Linked DNA regions of Homo sapiens: all the other regions are linked to region 2. The links are contacts of gene promoters, found by promoter capture Hi-C in human tissues and cell types (Jung and others, 2019). All regions are on one chromosome and are shown on one strand. Each heading gives the region's core, a stretch centred on a gene start or on the middle of the fragment in contact. The rest is flanking DNA. Distances are from core to core; before and after follow the strand shown. Region 1 overlaps MRPS21 (mitochondrial ribosomal protein S21). Region 2 holds the start of LYSMD1 (LysM domain containing 1). Region 3 holds the start of RPRD2 (regulation of nuclear pre-mRNA domain containing 2).

The links. The method cuts DNA at HindIII sites, captures the fragments that hold promoters and counts their contacts. A contact is called where the count stands out against the background at its distance.
Region 1: a fragment that was not itself captured here is called in contact with the fragment with the promoter of LYSMD1 in region 2 in 3 of the 25 tissues and cell types used here (dorsolateral prefrontal cortex, lymphoblastoid cells and spleen).
Region 3: the fragment with the promoter of RPRD2 here is called in contact with the fragment with the promoter of LYSMD1 in region 2 in 1 of the 25 tissues and cell types used here (dorsolateral prefrontal cortex).

What each region holds. Positions count from the first base shown.
Region 1 is chr1:150,299,766-150,303,461 of GRCh38, reverse strand. The region is part of intron 2 of MRPS21 (mitochondrial ribosomal protein S21); the gene reads right to left. Among named protein-coding and RNA genes, the nearest start is that of MRPS21, 7.8 kb to the right of the region's middle. The HindIII fragment of the contact is 5,855 bases long and covers 1-3,696 here.
Region 2 is chr1:151,164,635-151,168,133 of GRCh38, reverse strand. LYSMD1 (LysM domain containing 1) reads left to right here and starts at 2,232. Exons shown (of 3, transcript NM_212551.5): 1 at 2,232-3,055. The coding sequence starts at 2,876. It overlaps TNFAIP8L2-SCNM1 (TNFAIP8L2-SCNM1 readthrough), which reads right to left. Exons shown (of 7, transcript NR_144937.2): 2 at 1,593-1,663; 3 at 1,112-1,200; 4 at 916-1,013; 5 at 720-808. It overlaps SCNM1 (sodium channel modifier 1), which reads right to left and starts at 1,990. Exons shown (of 7, transcript NM_024041.4): 1 at 1,931-1,990; 2 at 1,593-1,663; 3 at 1,112-1,200; 4 at 916-1,013; 5 at 720-808. The coding sequence starts at 1,981. RefSeq lists enhancers at 1,942-1,991, 1,338-2,044, 2,012-2,291, 2,045-2,750. The HindIII fragment of the contact is 12,820 bases long and covers 1-3,499 here.
Region 3 is chr1:150,362,536-150,365,904 of GRCh38, reverse strand. RPRD2 (regulation of nuclear pre-mRNA domain containing 2) reads right to left here and starts at 1,758. Exons shown (of 11, transcript NM_015203.5): 1 at 986-1,758. The coding sequence starts at 1,190. RefSeq lists enhancers at 198-487, 971-1,250, 2,001-2,310, 2,471-2,540, 2,521-3,369. The HindIII fragment of the contact is 19,991 bases long and covers 1-3,369 here.

The DNA of each region.
Region 1 (3,696 bases), core at 1,079-3,578, 860 kb after region 2:
GAAATGGAAGCCGATAAGGGACACTTGGATAAAAGAATGATCTAAACATGTAAACATTTATTTCTGCTGAGACTTTGTGTTTAATACTGTCTAATGAAGGTTGCTTTTTGGACTAGAAAGTAGTATATTGGAGAAAATATAGAAAAAAGCCCCTGAAAGAAAAAGATTGGATATATAATGTAAAAAGTACAAGGAGACTGGATTTGAGAGAATATAAAAACGACAGAGACCCTGAGTAAATATGACCTAGGAAGACGAACCTATTGGAATGACAAAGACAGTTTAAAAGTAGGATGAAACAACACTGCAAGAGGAGGAAGGGGTTGAGTATGACTCAAGGAACCCTACTGGAGTTCCAAAAGGCTTCTAAAACAAAGGTGATCATCTTACCAAGGAAATGCCTGTACTGTCAGGCAAAAGGGCAAGACAAGGAAAAAGAATAACAAAAGAACATAAGAATGGTGAAGGGAAAAGAAAGAATATAATGATGGGGGTTGGTAAATGGCATTCCCTGGATGTACTACTTACTTCCAAAACACAGACCAAATAAATTCCAAGATGCCAGGTGAGGATTCCCTCCCTTACCCGACACGTTCTAGTCATACTAAAAAAGGCACAGATTATCTTCAAATGCCCCAGAGTCCCTATAGTAGAGGTATCTACTCAACTTTACCTCTAACAGAAAAGGATGCAAGAAAAGCTTTGTAAAACACAAGAATAGAGGGGGTGTTACTAATGATGCTTCCTTCTGCTTCCAAAAGTAGTTCAAGGACTAGTACATCAAGAGCTTTAGAGTAAACAGATCAGCCTGGAGTTCGGGCGCCTGGCAACCTAATACTGAAGGAGAAACCAGCTGCCAGTTTTAGTGAAATTCAAATGATTATGTAAAAGGAGCCAAGCTGCCTGGAGCGGGGGGAGGTGCGGGTGGCAGACTCACATGTCAGTGTAGCCAGTCTACGTCAGGACAGACGTGTATGCAGAAGGACTCAATGGACCCAGAAGGTAGCCCACTAGGAGTAAAAGGAGTCAACAGGGCATGCTTCCAGTGTACTCACCTTTCTTTGCTTGGGGGCCAGCCAATCATGCAGGGCTTCCTAGCAACCCCCACTCTCCACCTTCTCATCCCGGGGCACCAATGAGGGCCCCCAGTTATATAACAGGCATTTTGTGGTGGCCTCACTGGACAGACACGTAGGCTATTTCCTTTGTAAGACTCTCTCTGTACTCCAAACATGGTAAAGCTTTAATCACCTCCCTCTAGACTCATTTGCTCTCCTACCTATTGTTGTAATTAGACCACAGAACAAGCAAATTATTTTTAAACTACCAGCTATGAGAAAGCTGAAAGAGATCAGGAGAGGCCTGGAGTGTGAGAAAGATATACAGAAAAAGTGGCTAGAGAGAGGACATTTGGGAAAAGCAGAGAAAAAGAAGAAACAGAAAAGTGCATCAGTCAGAAAATGTGTTTAACAGGCAGCAGGAAAACAGAAGATTGGATCACTCCAAAATCAGTCTGCTCACGTATGCAAGCTTGAAAGTCCTTACCTAGAAAATTATTCTAAGAGGCCGGGCACGGTGGCTCACCCCTGTAATCCCAGCGCTTTGGGAGGCCGGGCGGGCCAATCATGAGGTCAGGAGTTTGAGACCAGCCTGGCCAACATCGTGAAACCCCGTCTCTACTACAAAAAATTAGCCGGACGTGGTGGCAGGTGCCTGTAATCCCAGCTACTCGGGAGGCTGAGGCAGGAGAATCACTTGAACCCGGGAGACAGAGGTTGCAGTGAGGCGAGACCACGCAGTCTGGGCAACAGAGAGAGACTCCGTATTAAAAAAAAAAGAAAGGAAAAAGAAAATTATTCTAAGACTGAAATATTTGTTCATTTCCCCCCTGCCCCGCGAAGCTATAATACAATTTATGGGACTCTGAGTCTATGGGACTTGAATTTCTTTTCCTTTTTTGAGACGAAGTCTCGCTCTCGTCCCCCAGGCTGGAGTGCAATGAATGGCGCGATCTCGGCTCACTGGAACCTCCGCCTCCTGGGTTCAAGCGATTCTCCTGCCTCAGCCTCCTGAGTAGCTGGGATTACAGGCACCTGCCACCATGTCCGGCTAATTTTTTTTCTTTTGAGACGAAGTCTCGCTCTCGTCCCCCAGGTTGGAGTGCAATGGCGCCATCTTGGCTCACTGCAAGCTCCGCCTCCCGGGTTCACGTCATTCTCCTGCCTCAGCCTCCCGAGTAGCTGGGACTATAGGCGCCCGCCACGGCGCCCAGCTAATTTTTTGTATTTTTAGTAGAGACGGGGTTTCACTGTGTTAGCCAGGATGGTCTCGATCTCCTGACCTCGTGATCCGCCCCCCTCAGCCTCCCAAAGTGCTGGGATTACAGGCATGAGCCACCGCGCCCGGCCAATTTTTGTATTTTTTTTAGTAGAGACAGGGTTTCATCATGTTGGCCAGGCTGGTCTTGAACTCCTGACCTCAGATGATCCACCCGCCTCGGCCTCCCAAAGTGCTGAGCTTACAGGGGTGAGCCACCGCGCCTGGCCAAATTTATTTTTCTAACCACTCCTCTTCTTTCTTAAAAAGAAAAGAATATAATTCTTTTCTTTTTAAGCAATGTAAATTGCTTTTTTCCAAATCCTACTCCTACTTTGGTGTTTTAATCCCTGAAGAAAAGGTAATACTGTGCTTCTTAACCAGGGTAATTAACAGAATGCCAAAGGATACAAGTTTCTGGACAAATTTGATGCATCTGCCTGGAGGCACCAATTTTAACTCGAAGGAGTGGGGGTGTTACCCATAAAACAGATGCAATGGCAACGAATACGAAGTTCACCTTACATTTTAATTTAGGGAAGCTTCAAAGAAATTCCATGTTTGCTTATAGTAGCAGAACCCCTATAGTTCATTCACTCTCCTCTGCTGTTAACGACACTTCAGTAAAAAAGTTTGACAAACATTAAATAAGTGACAAAAAAGATAAAGGAACATTTATGTTCATTAAGTAGACATTTAATGAGAGCTTTGGATGTGCCAGACACTTTGGTAAATCCAAGAGATACACAAATGAAAAAGCATAGGTTTCTGTCCTTAAGGAGGCTACAAGCCTTTTTTTTTTTGAGACAGGGTCTCACTTTGTCACCCAGGCTGGAGTGCAGTGGCGCGATCTCGGCTCACTGCAACCTCCAGCTCCCAGGTTCAAGCGATTCTCCTGCCTCAGCCTCCCGAATAGCTGGGATTACAGGTATGCACCATCATACCCGGCTAATTTTTATATTTTTAGTAGAGACGGGGTTTTACCATGTTGGCCAGGCTGGTCTTGAACTCCTAACCTCAAATGATCCGCCCCCCTCAGCCTCCCAAAGTGCTGGGATTACAGGCATGAGTCACTGTGCCCAGCCAGGAGGCTACAAGTCTATTATAATAATTTTCAATCCTGGTGAAATCTCATGGTATGTTTTTTAAAATGCTGCCATCCAGGTTGCAACCCCTGGAGATTCTGATTCATCTCAGATTGGGCCCTGGCATTAGTTTTGTTTTCTTGATGGTTCGTTCCCTAGGTGATCCTAATAGGCAGCCAGGGTTGAAACCACAGGGTGTCACACTGACCACTCTCCGGCTCTCTAATATTAACACTTCGACCCAGGAAATAGGTTTGTGTAAAATGCCAGTCACCAACAAAAAGAGAACCATAAA
Region 2 (3,499 bases), core at 983-3,482:
AAGAATAGTCTGTAAAAGCAGTAAGGGAAAGGGCCAACTCTCCTATGACTCCCAACCTCTTAAAACAGTGCTTCTTAAACTATATTTCTCAAGATATTAATAAGTTCTGCATACAAAGGATTTCAGAATCATGAATTTGGGAAAGGCTAGCTTAAAATTTTACAAGTTTTTTTTAATCTTAAGACTTTGTATAGTTTTTAAAACTGTTATTCTTCAAGTAGAATTACAAAGTGCCATTTCCCAAACTTTATTTAAAAATCACAAAATTCTCCTTTTCTTTTTCTTTCTTTTCTTTTTTTTTTGAGATGGAGTCTCACTCTGTCACCCAGGCTGGAGTGAAGTGGTGTGACCGTGGCTCACTGCAACCTCTGTCTCCCGGATTCAAGCAATTCTCCTGCCTCAGCCTCTTGAGTAGCTGGGATTACAGGCACACACCACACACCCAGCTAATTTTTTACATTTTTGGTAGAGACAGGATTTCACCATGTTGGCCAGGCTGGTCTTGAACTCCTGACCTCAAGTGATCCACCCACCTCAGCCTCCAAAAGTGCTGGGATTACAGGCGTGAGTCACCGCGCCCAGCCAAAATTCTCCTTTTCTTGAAACACTAAGTAACATCTCCAGAACACTAGTATTCCTCAGAATACACACTGGAAAACTCTTTTAGAGCCATCTGTCTCCTTCTGAGCCTTCCTACCTCTGGCTTTCCCGTCCCATACCTGTACTTCCGGCGGCAGCAACTGTTATAGTGGGGAGCTCTGTGCAGAGCACTCTGGGTGATAAGTCGTGTCTGAGTTAGCAGAGGAGCCTGGTAAGGAGATGGGAGACAGAGTCAGAGCCTTCAGCCCTCCGCCCTTCCAGCCTGGTGTGTGCAGCAGGGTCTTGCCTAGAACACACTCTCCACTCTCTGATTACCTCAGCTTTGGTTTCTTCCCTTCTCAATTCATTCTGATGTTTTGGATTCTGCTTTCTTTCCTTTCCCGGCTGCTTCTTGCCATAGAAAAGCTGCAAGCCTGAGGAGAAAGGGAAACAGAATTAAAAGCATAGCACCAAGAGTGGTGTGCAGAGATTTCGAGGGTTTATTCCCCATCCCGTCTTCCCCCTAACTTACTGGACAGATGTTTCTTGCCTGCACGGTGGGCAGTCAGCATGGCCAGGGTGTCCAGTACCGGTCGATGGGGGCAGATGGCACAAGCAAAGCTGAGCAGGGGTAGAGAAGAGGATAAGTGGTCCAGGGGAAGAGGGTTGGGCCCGTCCCTGCCATAGGTCCCACCCTGTCCTAGCAGTCTTTGCAAAACCCAACTCCCTGGTGACCCAATCTCCACTTCTTCCAGTCCTCACTGGCCGCCAAAGAATCCTAGGTACTCCTGCTGTCCTAATTAATAACAAAAGTTTGTTGAAGCCAGGCGTGGTGGCATGCGCTTGTAAACCCAGCTAATCGCGACGCTGAGGAGGCAGGATCACTTGAGCCCTAGAGTTCGAGGGCAGCCTGGGCAGCACCGCGAGACCTCCGTCTCAAAGGAAAAAAAAAAAAAAGTCTATTGAGCCTCTAACCGCAGAACCCTCAGGCTTGAGCCACTCCTTGCTCTTACCGTCCATCCCGAAGCATCAGCGCCTCATCCTCTGGAATGTAACTGGCTAGGAGGTCCCCGACTCTTCTTTTCTGCAGGGAGTAGGGGAAGAAATCCGGACGGGATCAGCGGGATAGGAGAGAGGGGTGGAAGTGAAATTATAGAAATGAGGAGTGAAATGGAATAAGGACCCTGGGGAGAACAGCGATCATAGACCGAAAAAGGAGTCACTACACAGCTCTAAGTCGCCTGGTTCTCTCCTGCACCCCCGAGTTGTTGCCAGAGCAATGAAACAAAGCTCCTTCCCAACCTTCAGGGAGCGACTGAAGCGGCTCCAGATCCTCTCCGCTCACGCTTACTTTGAGCACATTGAGTTGACTCCAATCGTCTCCTTCCCTCTTGAAAGACATCACGACTGTGAGTCCCAGAAGTGATAAATTCTCTGTTCCGGTTTCGCCACTCCTCCAGGCCACCGTAGCAAGAGCGGGACAGCGCCTTCTCTTTTTTCCTTCTCTTCCTGTCGGCCTCCGTACTTCCGGGGACGCACTTCCACGCATGCATTGCGCGATCCGGAAATCCACTCTCTGGTGCTCGGAGGGAACTGCATTTCCTATGGTGCCCTGCGACTCCGCAGACGCGGAGCCTTTTGGGAAATGAAGTCTTTTCTCAAAGACCTTGCCGCTCAACTGGATCCAGGCCCTTGCATCTTGGCGGATCTGAGGCGTTTGGAGGGACAACAACCTAGATGTGGAGCCGAAATTTGAGGGTGTGACCTATCTTATGCGGAGCGGACCTTTGAGGATCTCTGAGTGGAAGGTGTACTACAAATTCTTGCAATCCTCACGCTCTTCGTCTGCGGCGACAGTTCACCTGGGGTGGGCCTGATTTGTTCCTGACTCTAGCAAACAAACCCCGGGACCGGGGAGAGCTGGGATGTTGGAGCGCCCTGAGGCCAGGCTACTTGGGGGCAAACTGAGGAAAGAGTGTTGAGGATTATTTCTAGAGTTCAAAGGTCAGAGGTCAATGTAGCGAGGAGTTGTGGGGGAGTCCAAAGTCGGAGGGGTGCTTAGGGGAGAATTAGGGAGGGACTGAATACTCAAGGGACAGATTTGTGGATAAGTAGCTTGGAGGGAGGAGAAACCGGGAGGGGGCAGATGGCGTAGTGCTGGGGAGGCGGGGACACAGGGGAAGAGAGAGGGGGAAAGGAATCCCCTGAATATTCATTCCCAGACTTCAGGCCTGTCAGTCGCAGTCTCGGTCGTACCTCCCCTAGTTGCAACCTTAGCTGTTGGCAGGGTGAAGAGATGGCTTCCCCGTCTAGACAGCCCCCGCCAGGGGGGTCAGGACTGCTTCAAGGGAGCCGGGCTCGTTCATATGGAAGCCTGGTGCAATCGGCCTGCTCCCCAGTGAGGGAAAGACGCCTGGAGCATCAGTTGGAGCCCGGAGACACCCTGGCTGGACTAGCACTCAAATATGGGGTGACGGTGAGTTTTCCAGGATTGGGGTGAAGACAACAGTCAGGAGGGATTTAGTCCTGAGAAGAATGTAGTGGCCCTTCTAGGTAACCTCCCCTGAAATGTTCCTAATGTGTTGCACTCTGTTCTGCCTTTATCTTTGTTTTCCCATCACAGTGTTGCACAAGTCCTGCCCTACTATTCCAACGGAGAGGAACAGCTCCTATTTTATTATGCCAGACACTGTGCTGAGGGCTTCACATACGTTAGCTCATTTCACCCTCACATCTGTATCAAGTATACATTTATCGTTCCCTTTTGGCAGATGAAGAAACTGAGACTTGGATTGGTTAACCAGTTTGGCTAAGGTCAAATAATGAGCGTCAGATTTGGGATTCAAACAGGTCTGTCTGACTCTATTAACCACACAGAAAATTTTATGTTGAGAGTGATTAAACGTTTACAGCAACTAAT
Region 3 (3,369 bases), core at 509-3,008, 800 kb after region 2:
TAAAAAGTAACGGGGCCGGGCACGGGGGGCTCACGTCTGTAATCCCTGCACTTTGGGAGGCCGAGGCAGGTGGATCACCTGAGGTCGGGAGTTCGAGACCAGCCAGGCCACAATGATGAAACCCCGTCTCTACTAAAAATACAAATAATTAGCCGGACATGGTGGCGGGCGCCTGTAATCCCGACTACTCGCGAGGCTGAGACAGGAGAATCGCTTGAACCCGGGAGGTGGAGGTTGCAGTGAGCCGAGATCGCGCCACTGCACTCCAGCCTGGGCGACAAGAGCAAAACTCCGTCTCAAAAAAAAAGAGGAACTGGACACGCTTTATATTTGAAGGTATTAACGATGATACTGACTACTGTATCGCAGTTGTTTCTGGTCAGTATCCAAGAAACCTGTATTTTATTGCAGCAAACACAGGTACAGGGAAAACCCGGTGGTGCCTCAGATCTATGTAGAGCTCATGCTGCTTCTTAACATTCATCCAGGTAAGGCTCTCCTTACTACACATCACAAGTTTTAGATACATTCATCCAGACAAGGCACTCCTCATTAAACATCACTGGATTTACTACTGCTTAAAACCACAGCTCGCCTACCATCAGGAAAGCCAGAAATCATTAACACGTCAAGGCCTGTAAGAAATAAACAGACGCTACAATTTCCGCGAAGGTTCGGAAAAATCAATACACCTTACAAGGCTCTGAAATATTAAAAACAATATACGTAAATCTCCATGGATCTGGGCCCAACGGCCCAAGGTCACAACAATTCAATGGCTAAAAAACCCAAGAAATGAGTCTCCTGCAATTCAGGACAATCCTGGCTAGGAATGGAGTCTGGGTTTGGGACCACTGGGGTCAAACCTTTAATGTGAACAACCCCAACCAAATGCTGCGGCTCCGTGGGAAAACCCCAAGCGTTTCAGGCCACACTTCCTTCCATTTCCCCAGTCTTCCCTTCCCTAGTCACCCCCAACACTCACATCTCCGGAGCCACTTCATCCAATGATAGACGATAGTACTGTGGTGTTTTTTGTTCTCTATACACCAAGACGACAAGCCTTGAATGGACTCCATGGTGTTGGTTACCGACTGGAATTTTCGATCCAACGAGGACTCCAGAGCCCCTGCCGAAGAGGCCGACGAGGAGGAGGCCTTACTGCTGCCTCCGCCGCCGCCGGCCGCCATCTTCCCGGTTTGCACAAGCGCTGCTGCTCCTCTGGCGGCGGCGGCGGCGGCGGCGGCGGGAGCGGGCAAAACAATCACTGCGAGTGCGTGAAAGCCGTAGGTGGGGAGGGAAGCTAGGGGGTGGGGATGGTGCACGCGCTGGGCTCTTCTGGAGGTACGGACGGGAACACCAGCTGCTGGGCACGCTGGCAGCTCCTACACGCTGCAAGGAGGGGCTGCGGGTCTCGGAGGTTTTATCAATATTGTTCAAGGGGTCGTGTTTAAACCAGTCAGTAATCACGGAAAAATTACGCAGAAAACAGGACCTGCAAAGCCTTTCAAAACGCCTGACGCCGAAACTAATCGTTTTATACTTTTCGGCTCTCAGTGCTAAGGCCCTTCCCCGCCCCTGTTCCCACACTCCTGTGAGCCAGGTCGGGCGTTAATATCTTAAATGTAATACTACCCGACTGCCCCTTCAGTTGCAGAAATCTTTCTTTCCTTTAGACTCGCTAGCACAGAAAAGGTCCAAGGCTACCTAGTCAGGATTTTTTTTGCAACGCAATAGCAGCAAAGGGGCAGCAACAGTATCGCGCACGCGCCACTTGGCCCCACCCCCCTACCCCTGCTTCCTTCTCAACCTTGAAAGCAGAGGGAGGCGTGATGGCGGGGCAACCTGACCAATCAGGAGTGGAGAACCACAAGCGCGCGCAGGAGCTCTGAAGCCCCCAGGGCCCAGGAGGCGCTACGATTATTTTTGCGCCTGCGCAGAAGATAAGCGTGTAACGGGATGGAAGGAAAAACTGGGAGGGATGGGTGAGGGAGCTGGTATAACTAAGGTTAGCCGGGTGGGGGGGTTCCCCTGCCCCGCCCTTTGCTGCTTTTGGCCGCTCTCTTGGGTGTGTTCAGCTCACACAACAGAGACAGAAAATTCCCACCACTGAGACCACTGTTAGTCTTCAGGGGGCTGCAGCCATCGCCCCCAACTCCTCGGAGGAGCAACGCGCGACAAAATGGCTGGCAGCCATCTTGCGGCACCACAAAAGATGCGCATGCGCCAGATCCAGTGAGCCATTCACTACGCAGACTCCGACACCAAACCGTATTTATTGCTGCCCATAGAAGATAACATTCACAGCCGCTTGACCATTTAGGTTACAGGAAAAGGAAATAAATGAGGAAGTGAAAGGAAATTTTCCTCATAAAATTTTTCGAGGCGAAAAAAGAATGGCAAGATGTGACCTCATTTTCGCCAGCTATGATACAATCTTAAAATTGCATAATACATTACAGTTTTCAAGAGTCTTACGTAACTATTATATGAACCTTATACGAACCATTTTATCGCAGGTATCTATGTAAATCCTCTGAGCTAATTTAAAGGCTCCTGTGTTCCCACTAAACATATACAGTTTTAATTCTTTTAACGTCTCCTCACTGCGGCCATGCCTCTTGAGGCAGGGAACCTGTTTTGTCAAGTTCATGTCCACTATTCATTAATTCAACGAGTTGTTGAACCTCTTGTGCCAAGTACTGTTTTAGATCATGGGGAGCAAAACAGACAAAAATCCGTTCCCTCCGGGATTTAGTGGCAGGACACCACCAACAAGTACATTTCAGACAGTATTAAATTCTGTAAAAAGGTGAAGCAGGGTAAGGGAGAAAGGGGTGTGTGTGTGTGCGCGCGTGTGTGTACGTGTGCACGGCACGCACGCGCCAGTATAAGAATGGTGGTATGGTGAACCAGGAAGTCTTCTCGAAAGAAATAACTCGATCTGAACATTGAGAAAAAAGCAACCAAGCAGATATGCGAGACGGGGAGCGGAACATGCTGGCATTAGGAACAGCAAGTGCAAAGGCTCTAAAATACAGTCTCGCTCTGTCCCTGCCAAGGCTAGAGTGCAGTGGCACTATCATATCGCACAGCAGCCTCAATCCCCCAGACTCAAGTGGTCCTCCTGCCTCAGCAGCACAAGTAGCTGGGACTACAGGCCTGCACCACCACACCTAGCTAAAAAAACAAAACAACAACAACAACATTTTTTTGAGAGGGGGAGTCTCCCTATGTTGCCCAGGCTGGTCTCAAACTCCTAGCCTCAAGCAGTCCTCCTGCTTTCAGCCTCCCGAAGTGCTGGGATTATAAGCTTGAGCCGCCATGCCTGGTCCTGACCCCACATTTTTTTTTTTTCTGTAACTCTAG